Regions from separate parts of the Homo sapiens genome. Here region 1 is linked to region 2. The links are contacts of gene promoters, found by promoter capture Hi-C in human tissues and cell types (Jung and others, 2019). All regions are on one chromosome and are shown on one strand. Each heading gives the region's core, a stretch centred on a gene start or on the middle of the fragment in contact. The rest is flanking DNA. Distances are from core to core; before and after follow the strand shown. Region 1 has its middle 44 kb from the start of ABRA. Region 2 holds the start of ABRA (actin binding Rho activating protein).

Evidence for each region. The method cuts DNA at HindIII sites, captures the fragments that hold promoters and counts their contacts. A contact is called where the count stands out against the background at its distance.
Region 1: a contact is called between a fragment that was not itself captured here and the fragment with the promoter of ABRA in region 2, in 3 of the 25 tissues and cell types used here (hippocampus, mesendoderm cells and ovary).

The regions. Positions count from the first base shown.
Region 1 is chr8:106,810,351-106,817,249 of GRCh38, reverse strand. No RefSeq gene overlaps it. Among named protein-coding and RNA genes, the nearest start is that of ABRA, 44 kb to the right of the region's middle. The HindIII fragment of the contact is 5,186 bases long and covers 351-5,536 here.
Region 2 is chr8:106,767,145-106,773,521 of GRCh38, reverse strand. ABRA (actin binding Rho activating protein) reads left to right here and starts at 3,278. Exons shown (of 2, transcript NM_139166.5): 1 at 3,278-3,999. The coding sequence starts at 3,332. The HindIII fragment of the contact is 12,258 bases long and covers 1-6,377 here.

The DNA of each region.
Region 1 (6,899 bases), core at 1,694-4,193, 44 kb before region 2:
CAAACCCTTGTCTGACGCAGCACCCAAAAACTGCTTCCTTTGATTCTGTATGGCAAGGCACCCAGGGTGAAATTAATTTCAATTGCACTTAATGTTTTGTAAACATAGCATGAATTGATTGGAACGAAAGAAGCCAAATCTACACAAAAGAGTCATCTACCCTGAGCCTGGTTACCTGTCAGGTGAAACATCTGACACTTTACTGGAAGACAATTAATGCTTTTTCTACTTTGTCAAACAATAAAGAGAGTGTGTAAAACCATCACAGGGTGAAGTGACACTTTACACACTGAAAAGATTATAGAATGTTAGAGACAGAAATTACCTTAGAATTAAGATTTCTAAGCACCTCATTTTGGATGAGGAACCTGGGTCTCAGTAAAGTGAATTCACCAAGTTTACACAGCCAGTTAGTGAGAGTCATATACTTGATATAGTTATTTAGCAAAAAATCATTTAGTAATATTTCCAGGCCCTATGCTGAGGACTGAGGATACAAAGGAGATATAAACAAGTCTGAGTTCCTTGAGGTCAGGGGCTATAGTTTTCCAACTGGGAGGTCAAAGTTGAAGTATTACACTAAGAATCATCCAGATATAATGACGGATAAATCCACAAGTGGATGAGTTCATTCAGGTCCAATGTGCAAAGGGGAAACAGGGGACTCACAACCCAGTCTCCTCATGAGCAGTCCAAGGTATTTTCCACAAGGTCCACCCCAGCCAATACCTTCAAAAGAAAAACAAAGCAATCCCTGCAGCATCACATTGTAAAATCTTGTGATTTAAGAGAGTTTTCTGTGAATCAGGAATGTCATATTTATTACCAAAATGCTCTCAAATCTCATACTTGTACTGATTACTATAAAACAGATCTTGGTACATTACATAAATAGCCCAGACTTCATAATCCGTGAGGTCCCACTTTCCTTTAACACACAAATCACAATAGTTGGAACCTTTTATCCTTCTAATGTTCAGTCTTTTGCCAGGTTTTCTTCTTCTAACAGTTTCTGAATATCTCAGTTTCTGATGTGTTCCCTGTACTAGTCAGGGTTCTCCAGAAAAACAGAACCAATAAGAAATATAGAGATATGTGACCAGGCATGGTGGCTCACGCCTGTAATCCCAGCACTTTGGGAGGCCAAGGCGGGTGGATCACGAGGTCAGGAGATCGAGACCATCCTGGCTAACACAGTGAAACCCTATCTCTACTAAAAATACAAAAAATTAGCCGGGCGTAGTGGTGGGCACCTGTAGTCCCAGCTACTCAGGAGGCTGAGGCAGGAGAATGGCGTGAGCCCCGGGAGGCAGAGCTTGCAGTGAGCTGAGATCTCGCCACTGCACTTCAGCCTGGGCGAGAGAGCAAGACCCCATCTCAAAAAACAAATATAGAGATATGTAAGAGGAGATTTACTAGGGGAATTGGCTCACAAAATTATGGAGACCAGGACATGTTGCCATATGATATCTTCAAGCTGGAGAACCAGGAAAGCCAGTGGTGTAATTCAGTCTGAGGCTGAAGGCCTGAGAACCAGGAGCTCTAATGTCTGTGGGCAGAAGATGGATTTCCCAACTCAAGAAGACAGAGCTAATTTGCCCCTCCTCTGCCTTTTTTACCCTTTTGGGTCCTCAAAGGATTGGATGATGCTTGTGCACATTGGCAAAAGTGAAGCTTCTTTACTCAATCTACAAATTCAAATGCCAATCTCTTCTGGAGATAGCCTCACTGGTACACCCAGAAAAAATGTTTTACAAGCTATCTGGGCATCCCTTAACCCAGTCAAGTTGACATATAAAATTAATCATTGCCTTCCCCAGGCCGCCTTCAGCAGCCATGTGATTCTGGACTCTGTAGATTATGTCTTCCCATTCTAGGGGAGCCATCTTCAAGTACAGCAGAAGCTATTTCCTTCCATTTCTGACAGCATTGCAGAAACAAGATACTTTTTGAAAAACTAAGACTTTTCCAACATATTGCACAGTCTCCACCCTCTTCTAGGTCCCTTACAAAGTAAGTTGACACCGTGTCTTCTATCCCAGGCCACTTGCTCAGGCCCAGGGGTTTATCCTACCCCCAACATCTATATGCGTTCTTGGTTCCTTTCGCTCCAGATCTAGGCTAAATTAACCCAGGCCTTGGAGAGAAAAGAAAGGTGTTTTCCTCACCCTTTCTAAGACTCACCCAGGAATGACTTCTTTCCAAAATGATTGACAATTGAAATATCCACTTCCATTAGAGGCAAACTTACTCCTATGTTCAAGGCTGCAGTTGAACTGCTCCCAGGAATTTTCTATGACGTGATATCAGCACATCCCCCAAAGCCTCTGTTCTTTAGTTTGTCCCAGTTTATAGGACATCAATAGCCCAATGGAAGTTAGGTGGTGCCAAAATTAGTCTTATTTTGTAATAGGCAACATAATGGCTCCCAAAAGTATCTATATCCTAATCCCTGCAACCTATGAATATATATGTTACCTTACATGGGAAAAGGTACTTTGCAAATATGATTAAGTTAGGGACCATGAAATGGGGAAGTTATCCTGGGTTATCTGGGTGGGCCCAATGCAATCACAAGCATCCTTAAAAGCAGAAAGCTCTTCCTGGCTGCGAGGAAGGTATGACTATAGAAGAAAGATCAGAGAGCTGCACATTACTGCCTATGGAGAAAGGGGCCACAAGCCAAGGAATGCTGGCACCTAGAGAAGTAGAAAAGGGCAAGGAAATGAATATTTCCCCAGAGCATCCATAATGAATTCTACATTGCCAACACCCTGATTTTAGCCCAGTGAAATCTGTACCAGGCATCTGACCTGCAGAACTGTAACATAAAAAATTTGTGTTGCTTTAAGCTCCTGAATTTGTGGCAATTTGATATGGCAGCAATAGAAAACTAAAACCTATTCCCTTTCAGTGTCTTTACATAAAGAGTGCAGAAGGCATGGAGGAGCAAGTCTCACCCAGAAATATCCTTGTAATGTGAGTTCATCTTGGATGTGGTTTAGTGGGTTTTGATAAGCAGCAGCTCTTTCCTAACCCCAGTCATTGTCAAACTCAATAAAATCATCTAAATCAGTAAATAAGGTTGAAGTCAATAGAGAAAATATTTAAATCAATTAGAAATAGATTCTCTAACCTAGGATTTCTCAACCTTGGCACTATTGACATTTTGGACCAGACAGTTCTTTGTTGGAGGTGGGATGCTGTCCTCCTCATGTAGGATTTTCAGCAGAATTCCTGACCTCTACCCCCTTGATGCCAGTAGCAACCCTTCACCTGTGACAACCAAAAATATCTCCAAATATTGCCAAATGTCCCCTGGGGGGAAAAAATCACCTGTGGTTGAGAACCACTGTTCTATCCCAAAAATCTCTTGGAGAAAAGCAAGGAAGCTGTCTTATAAAAATAACTAGGATATTTCAGGATATGAAATGTTTAGTTGAGAAGTAAACACTGGGAGGATATATGTCAATCCCATAGGCCTTTACACTTCTGGTACGTGAAACAAAAAGAATCAGGGACGTAAATATCCATTTCCAAGTGATTTAGGTATCAATAACTTCTTGAATAAATTCTCTGTGCTTTCCTCCACTTTTAATACAAGCTTTCTTTCCATGAGTCAATGATTTTTCCTGGCAAAGTGACCTGGAATGGCATTAAATGAAGCTAGGCACTGTGATTTCACTTGTAAGGACATGGCATGACTTCTTAGGATATTACACACTAACACAACCAACTGCAGGTGGCTTCAAGTTACACAGCAGAGGCCAGTAGACAGTGGGTGTGTCATCATAGAGCAACCTACTGAGAGGGGTGGAGGCCTTCAACATAGCTAAATTAACTTAGACTAAAACTATTAGGTGGAATCTCTTCCTAGAAAAGAACAAAAACAATTGAATTCAATGTCACAACTACAACCAGCCACATACTTTCATTCCATGAATGAGATTTAGCTACAATAGCCCTAAATGCTGGCACCTCAAGCTGCCACATGCCTAGGAAATCAAAGGTTCTCTATTCTTCTCAAACACGGCAATGATCTAAAAATAGGGAAGTGATTTAGGAACTAAACAAAGCAACTGAGTTAGTTGTTTGTAACCTGTAAATAAGTCAGCATATGAGTTCAACTGACAGCAATTTCAAAAGGAAGAATTCAACCTAGAGCAAAATGTAATCTATCATCACAATCATATTAACCAAATTAATACATTAGTGGAGCAAATGATCCAAGGTTTGAGTCTATAGCAAAACAGCTAAAGATCTGGGTGACATTTTTTTCAGACCAATAATAAATTTGTCTGGATCTCTTTTGTGGGATTGAGACTTTTCAAAATTGGCATTTTCTGTAAAGTACATTTCAAGATCTATTACATTAAGGGGGAATAAGTCCTTATGTATTTTTCCAGAACTAGGGCCCATGAATGGAAGTTTTAGAAAATCAGGTTTCAGAACAAAATACCAAAAAACATTTTTGCCCTTGTTGTTGAATAAAAATTGCTTAACAAGGGATTGAACTCTGTTGTGAATCAGTTTCCAGAAGGGGCTGCATCATCATTTATTAAAAATGGTGGTCGGGCGTGGTGGCTCATGCCTGTAATCCCAGCACTTTGGGAGGCCGAGGCCAGTGGATCACCTGAGGTCAGGAGTTCGAGACCAGCCTGGCCAACATGGTGAAACCCCGTCTCTTCTAAAATACAAAAATTAGCTGGCATGCGCCTGTAATCCCAGCTACTTGGGAGGCTAGGGCAGAAGAATCGCTTGAACCTGGGAGGCAGAGGTTGCAGTGAGCCGAGATCATGCCACTGCACTCCAGCCTGGGTGATGGAGTGAGACTCTATCTCAAAAAAAAAAAAAAAAAGGTGCCTGTGACAGCCCTGATTTAAATGAGAGGTTAGACTAGCAGCCCTTCACGTGGCCTCTTCATGCTTTTGGGGGGTCTACAGTAAGGTAACAGCAACCAAGAAGTGACTGTCATTGAGGGCTTCGGGGTCCTGGGTTCTAAGACACCAGATGACCTTTCCCTGCCCCCAGTCCCAGAGGAACCTGCTACTGCCCGCAGAAGAATCGGTGACAGGGTGCTTGTCCTTACTTCTATGATGGAGCCACTGTATGACTGAGCACATAACTGTCAGTTTGCACAGGTTAGCAGGGGATGAGGAAAGGCCCATCATCCTCTCTGTTCTCTACCTCTTACTCTTCTCGACAATATTTTTTTTGGTGGGGGGGTAATTCAGCTAAGGTTCAATCCCTAATAATTTAGTTCTCTTATTGATGTTTTTAAGTTGGCTCACAATTTCAGCTCTCACTTGTTCCCTTTGTATATTACAAACTGAAACCATTCTTTCAATAAATATTCATTAAGAATCTACTCATGTTGGATACTGCAGCAGGCACTGGAATTAAAATGGTGAGCAATATAGGGTGGTCCCTGCCCTTCAAGGTGTTAACAGTCAACAGAGAATACATGGAAACAAGCAGGCAGCAGCATCAGTGAGGTGTCAGAAGGGCAACAGAGGGCCTTAGGGGAGTGAGGGGCAGCATGCCTCTCACCTCTGGGAGGGGTTTGCCGGAGCCAGGGCCCTTTAAATTGAGCCCTGGGGAAGGAGTGAAAATTAGGCAAAGAAAAGAATAACTGTTCCAAACAGAGAGAAAAGCATGAAGGCCAGGAGACAAGAGAGCTACGTGCTTTTGAGGAGGTGGTAGGAGCTGTCCATGGCTGAGTTGCAGAGGACCCGGGGGCGGGGAGCCCTAAGCAATGAGGCTGGAGAGGTGGGTGGATGTCCTTCTTCCCTTTGGTAACCATGTGGTGTAGCCACATTAAGCCTGTTATAGTGGGAACTAGGAAAGCACCACCCTCCAAGTGCTGTAAAACAACCCTGTCTGTGTTCAAGCAACCCCAGGAGGTAATCTGCTCTGGGCACACTTTTCCTCCATGCAGCCTAGAGATGACACTGATGGTGGAGTCGGTGACTGTCCCTGTGCCCCATTTCTCCACAGTTCCCACCAAAGGCTACACTTACACTCTCCCCTCTCTCAGAGTGGGCTTACTGGTGATGTACACTGCACAGCACAGGCTCTAGGTCCACCCCACCTCCCTAATTCTGGTACTACCTGCAGGAACATTTCCAGTAGGCAGGCTGGAGCAGAGGCCTCAGTGGGGAGCACCCACCTATCAGCATTGTTCTCAAGGCATAGCCTCACCTGGAGAGGGAGGTTGGTGAGGAGAGTGTTAGTGAGACAGCATGTCCCTTCCATACTGAAGGGTTTCCTCTTTGCATTCCTTGCCAGGGTTGACTGGAAAGGTCTTTCTGGAATGACAGATACCAATGCTAGCCTCTCTCTGGCACCCTTCCTCCCAGGGTACATAATGTGGGAGGGTGGGGAAACAGTGGAGGTGGCTGTAGGCAATGAGGTCTCCCTCATCTAGAATTTGGGCCCGTCCACTCCTGTGCATCACTGAGCTTACTAACAAGGAAAGAGAAAGCTCACTCGATTCTCACACTTAGCCACTAGTGCTGATTCAGGGTCTCATGGGTGAATGTAGATTTTCAGGACATGCCTCTCCCCTTTTTCTCATAGCTGGCAGCTCTCCTGGGCCTTGGCACTCAATATTCCCAGAGAATGTCCCTAGTGGATCAACTTGGTTGCCAAAGGTTCTTGTTAGGCATAAAGTGGCCATCTAGCGGGTGACCACACAGATTGACAATTCGTTCTGGAAATGACACCTGGGGAAAAAAAGCTACAATTTTCTGAAGTTAAAAATATGATTCATTTGGTGAAATTTGGACCCTGACTTATTGATCATGATGTTAAGAAAATATTATATTTTAGGTCTGGTGGAGTGGCTCACGCCTGTAATCCCAGCACTTTGGGAGGCTAAGGCAAGTGGATCACGAGGT
Region 2 (6,377 bases), core at 2,029-4,528:
ACCTCTCCTTCCTCTTTCTACTATTCATATGATCAAAAAATAACAAATACTATTTTCAAGATACTTTCTCACTTATGACAGACTTCTTAGGCGATAATGATCTCATTAATCAGGTCTGCATCTTCACAAACAGTTTCAAATCTCAAGGTTTCCTAGGAAGCTCCCATTGTAAAACACTTAATTCATTTTATTTTTGTCTTTGAGGTTTTATTTTCATTTCTAACATAAATGAAACAGGAAAATCTAGAACTCCCAAGAATTTGAATTTCGATTGAGACAATGAACGTAATATTTCTATAGTAATCAAAGATGTATGGGAGGTAGCATACAGACCTTGCTTTAGGGAAGAAAGGCCCAAAGCACGCGTGAGGAGGAAAACGATTTTACACTCTCTTCTGTAGAGTGATGAATGAAGGACTGCAGTTGCCATGGAGGCTAAATCTCAGAAGGAATGACTAGGTTCTTTTAGAAGCTGCTCCTGTTTTTCAGCCAAGACCATCTGCTGACATCCCCAAACCCCAGTAGCTGACTGCAATGCCAGTTAATACGTGAAAGACTGTTAACATTTGCTGTTTCCCTTTCTTCTCCCTCTATCAGGACTGAATCTGGGGCAGGTGTGGACAGGCAAGCAGGAAAATCCCGTTGAAAGCTATAAATTATCCTGATTCTGGGCTAAGCGTATGGGTGTCTTAGAGGAACTCTATTTTTTCCTAAGACCTTCCAAGTGGGATGAAGAGATTCTGATAAGAACCAAACAGGCTGCAGTGAATCTGCATTGCTGGGAGGAATGCCAGAAATTTCAGGCTCAGATTGAAATCTTTGTTTGTAATAGTTTTCTTTCCTTGTGATCCAATTTCCTCTTAATTAATCAAGAGGGATTTTTTTTTTTCTCCGCATTTCTGGCCCTCAGTTAATGTTATCAGATGCCGTTGAACTCTGGAAACACCTCTGACAGATCTGTAGATTAAGTATTAAATCACTTCCCAATTTTTTTTATCCTAAGAGGTAAATAACCCACACGATGAAAAACGAATAGCGGCCGGGCGCGGTGGCTCGCGCCTGTAATCCCAGCACTTTGGAAGGCCGAGGAAGGAGGATCACGAGGCCAGGAGATCAAGACCATCCTGGCTAACACGGTGAAACCCTGTCTCTGCTAAAAATACAAAAAAATTAGCCGGGCGTGGTGGCGGGCTCCTGTAGTCCCAGCTACTCCAGAGGCTGAGGCAGGAGAATGGTGTGAACCTGGGAGGCGGAGCTTGCGGTGAGCCGAGATCGCGCCACTGCACTCCAGCCTCGGCGACAGAGCGAGACTCCGTCTCAAACAAAAAAACAAAACAACAACAACAACAAAAAACTAATACCAACTTTTTTCCAAAATAAATGTCTCACTCTCTGAAATAATTAACTTTTATACCTTTTTGTGCTCTTAAACAGCAGTTTTCAATCAGTATGGTTACTTGCATGCAAGACTGAAGGAAAGGATATAGTTTTAAAGCCAACAGACCTGTTGAATGAAAAAAAATTCCGTCTTACTTTAAGAAATTATTCATTGCTGAGCCCTGGACATTTTTATCTGGTTTAATACACTGCATAGATGTTTCTCTTTCTGTCCACATGCTTGTCTTTCCAGTCCTTTTAAAAAAATATTATATTTCAGTCCCTCTTGTGAGAGTTGAAAAACTGTCTTTGCCTACATGAACATAAAGTCCTGCTAAGGAAGATTGTGTTACTAAAAACAAAAGGGGCCAGACGTGGGGGCTCACATCTGTCATCCCAGCACTTTGGGAGGCCAAGGTGGGAAGACTGCACAAGCTCAGGAGTTTGAGACCAGCCTGGGCAACATAGCGAGACTCCGTCTATATAAAACAAAAACAAAAACAATTAGCTAGGCATGGTGGCTCATGCTTGTATTCCCAGCTGCTTGGGAGACTGAGGCAGGAGGACTGATTGAGCACAGGAGGTCAAGGCTGCAGTGAGCCATCATCACACCACTGCACTCCAGCCTGGGGACACAGCAAGACCTTATCTCAAAAAACAAAACAAAACAACAACCACAAACCAAACGGTAAGGGTAGGCGGGATGGGGATAAGAAGTGAGCTACCGATAGCTTTCATTTATTCTGTCCTTAGAATTCTGTCCTTAGATGATCTTTTCAAACAAAGTATTTCAAAATATGTATTCCAACAATAATTTCTTTCTTTCTTTCTTTCTTTTTTTTGAGACGGAGTCTCGCTCGTCACCCAGGCTGGAGTGCAGTGGCTCGATCTCCGCTCACTGCAAGCTCCGCCTCCCGGGTTCACAGGATTCTTCTGCCTCAGCCTCCCGAGTAGCTGGGACTACAGGCGCCCGCCACTACGCCCGGCTAATTTTTTGTATTTTTAGTAGAGACGGGGTTTCACCATGTTAGCCAGGATGGTCTCGATCTCCTGACCTCGTGATCTGCCCGCCTCGGCCTCCCAAAGTGCTGGGATTACAGGCGTGAGCCACCTCGCCCGGCCTCCAATAATAATTTCTAAAATCCAATGTGTATACAGGTTTTAAAAACATTTTTTAATGATTGGACCAAAATTTTGACTCCCTTTTTGTATTTTAATATGAGTTATCTATACAATAGTTCAAAGTTGGGACTAGAAAGTAATTAGTCTTTGACTATCTGGACTTTGGTCTTTCTCGTATCTGGGCTTCAATTTTCTCATTTGGAAAATGAAGATTGGATGAGTTGATTTTCTAAGGTCTATTTCTAATGGAGTTGAATGAAAAAGAAAAAGGCAACTTAGGATCTTTGATAACTGGAATAAAAGGAGGCACACGCTTTGAATTACACAGAGATGGATTTGAATCTCATATTTTATTAGCTGCTGGAAGTTAGATTTTATTTTACTTAGCTATAAAGTGGAACTAATTAGGAGCTGTACTGAGGGCTGCTGGGGTTTAAGTGGGAACAATCCTATAATGTTCCCAGGATAATATGTATGCACCTATAAATGGTAGGACCATATTAAGGTCAGACAAACGTAAGGCTGAGCACATGACTTGATCTAGTAATTTCCACTCTGGCACTTGGAGAAGAGAGTGAGCATATCACTGTTCCTTACCAGCAGAGATGTCCCTCTGCCGTGATGAAACTGGAGCTGTCATGATTTATAAAAAGAACACCATCAGGGCAAAGGCGCCACATCTTGGCAAGAAATGCTTCACATAGTTTCCATCGTCACTAAGCTCTCCTTCCCACCCCGCACCCTGCTTCTATTTAAATCCCAGGCACTCCACTGGACCACACTCATTTTAGCCAGTGTCCAGGCTATCAGCAGAGAAAGACAGGTGGGCAGCATGGCTCCGGGCGAAAAGGAAAGCGGGGAGGGCCCAGCCAAGAGCGCCCTCCGGAAGATACGCACAGCCACCCTGGTCATCAGCTTGGCCCGAGGTTGGCAGCAGTGGGCGAATGAGAACAGCATCAGGCAGGCCCAGGAGCCTACAGGCTGGCTGCCGGGAGGGACCCAGGACTCACCTCAAGCTCCTAAACCAATCACACCCCCTACTTCACACCAGAAAGCTCAGAGTGCCCCAAAGTCGCCACCCCGCCTGCCAGAAGGACATGGAGATGGACAAAGCTCAGAGAAAGCCCCTGAGGTTTCTCACATCAAAAAGAAAGAGGTGTCCAAAACGGTGGTCAGCAAGACTTATGAGAGAGGAGGGGACGTGAGCCACCTCAGCCACAGGTACGAGAGGGATGCTGGTGTGCTTGAACCTGGGCAGCCAGAGAATGACATTGACAGAATCCTCCACAGCCACGGCTCCCCAACGCGGAGGAGAAAATGTGCCAACCTGGTGTCTGAGCTAACCAAGGGCTGGAGAGTGATGGAGCAGGAGGAGCCCACATGGAGGAGTGACAGCGTAGACACAGAGGACAGCGGCTATGGAGGAGAGGCTGAGGAGAGGCCCGAGCAGGATGGAGTGCAGGTGGCTGTGGTCAGGATCAAGCGCCCCTTGCCCTCCCAGTAAGTGAATGCATTCTCCCACTCCTTGTGTCAGGATCACTATTGAGCCCCAACCAAGTCTGGGAATCCAGGCAGCAGATGAAGTCCTGCCAGGGTTAGAGTGAGAATCTCAAAGACTGGACAGGCAGTGAGTACTGTAGAGGAGGGATGTCCCTGGGCTGAAGGTCAGTGCCAACCTTAGACATGGACCTTTTGGTCAGGGCCTGCGCTATTTTGTTTCTCGTTTTTGTTTTGAACTGAACACTCAAGTCTTAGCCTCAACAAAGATGAAGCCATCAGAGAGGGAAGCCTGTTTTTCGTGAATTCTTTAAGTCAGTTCTATAATGAGTAACAAATTGGCTTATTTCTTTAGAGATAAGAGTGGTTTCTGATAGACTCATTGGGGAAACTTTTACCTTGTCCCAAATGTCTATGCTATTATCAGGAGATACGTCTGCTTCAATAACACCCATGGAATACAAATCTCTGACTCTAAACAGGTGGAGGCTGCTGTCTAATTTGAAAGCAGGCTCTGAATGAAGTCAGACAGACCCAAGTTCAAATCCTAGTTCTGCCCCTAACTAGTCATTTTTAAAGGTGATTTCATCAGCTGGGCGCAGTGGCTCAGCCTGTAATCTCAGCACTTTGGGAGGCTGAGGAGGGCGGATCACTTGAGGCCAGGAGTTTGAGACCAGCCTGACCAACATTGGTGAAACCCCATATCTACCAAAAAACACACAAAAATAGCTAGGCACAGTGTTGTGCATCTGTAATCCCAGCTACCCGGGAGGCTGAGGCATGAGAATGGCTTTAACCCATGAGGCTGATGTCGGAGTGAGCCAAGATCATGCCACTGTACTCCAGCCTGGGCAACACAGCAAGACTCTGTTTCACATAAAAATTAAAAAAAGCAGATTTCCTCATTTGTAAAATGACAGCAACAGTAAGCTTTTGGGAGAAGTTCTATTGTATTGGGAAACGTAAATGAGATTAGGGCTACCAAACACAGAGCTTGTCACATATGCTCAATACACGAAAACTATTATTATTCACATAGATTTGGTTACTTTGCAACTTTTCAAATTTTCAAAAACAGTTTGTCCTATTTGTAAACAAATACAGCAATAATTAAAATATCTAGATGGTAAATACACATACATACACTCACATACACATTTACTCAAACTGAAACATGTATATAGACAAGAAACACGTGCTTTATTTCAAGACAGTAACTCCACATGGTAGAAAGTCAGGATTTCTTATTCCACAATGCCAGGGTATCAAAATATAAGAAAAATGTCTGATGTCATTACATTTATAGACTGACTCCCTTTGGGGACAGTTTGATGTGCAAGTGTGTTTTTCAAGTCTTATGAAACAATAAGAAAATAAAGAAAAAAATTGTTACCTAATTTGACAAAAAGCTGTTCCTTTTTTTTTTTTTTTGAGATGAAGTCTCACTCTGTTGCCCAGGCTGGAGTACAGTGGCACGACCTCGGCTCACTGCAACCTCCATCTCCTGAGTTCAAGTGATTCTCCTGCCTCAGCCTCCTGAATAGCTGGGATTACAGGTGCACACCACCACGCCCAGCTAATTTTTGTATTTTTAGTAGAGATGGGGTTTCACCATGTTAGCCAGGCTGGTCTCGAACTCCTGACCTCAGGTGATCCACCCACCTCGGCCTCCCAAAGTCCTGGGATGCATGAGCCACCGCACGCGGCCTAAAGAGCTGTCTTATAGTTTGAGACTGTAAAGGTGTTTTGAAAGAATTAGAACTACTACACTGCCAGCTCTCAAGAAAAATAAAATGGCAAATGGGTAATTACAATAATCTGTCACGTGTTCAGTGTGTGCTGTAGGTGTTTAAATGCTTTGTCGCTTCACTTCTCATAATCCTTTGAGTAGCTATTCACTCATTTCAGGGATAAGAACACCAAAGCTCAGAGGGGAAGTTTGCCCAGCAAATTAGTGACAAAGCTAAGACGTGCCCTACTCCAAATGCAATGTTTTAAAACCAGACATGGTTCCAACCTTCATGCAGTGTCTTGAGGATGCATTCAGAGGTCTGGATTTGTGCTTAATGTAGGAGTTCATGATCAGAAGTAACTATGCTATCCGAACATGAGGAACCATATTCCAAACTCTGGCCTTTTGGATCTTGGGACATGTGTGCTAGAAATGGAATAACGGGGTCCAAAAGAATAAAGACTGAGGGGGCACAATGACAAGATCTTTCTCTCAGCACATTTTAAATTAACTAGAAGTAAGGAGGTGACAGCTGGGACCGATCCTGAATGCATAGTAGAGCTAGACATTCTTTGGCACTTGTCTAAGCACTTTTCATATATTTATTTATTTAATCCCACAATATCCTCATATGATAGGTTATAATCAT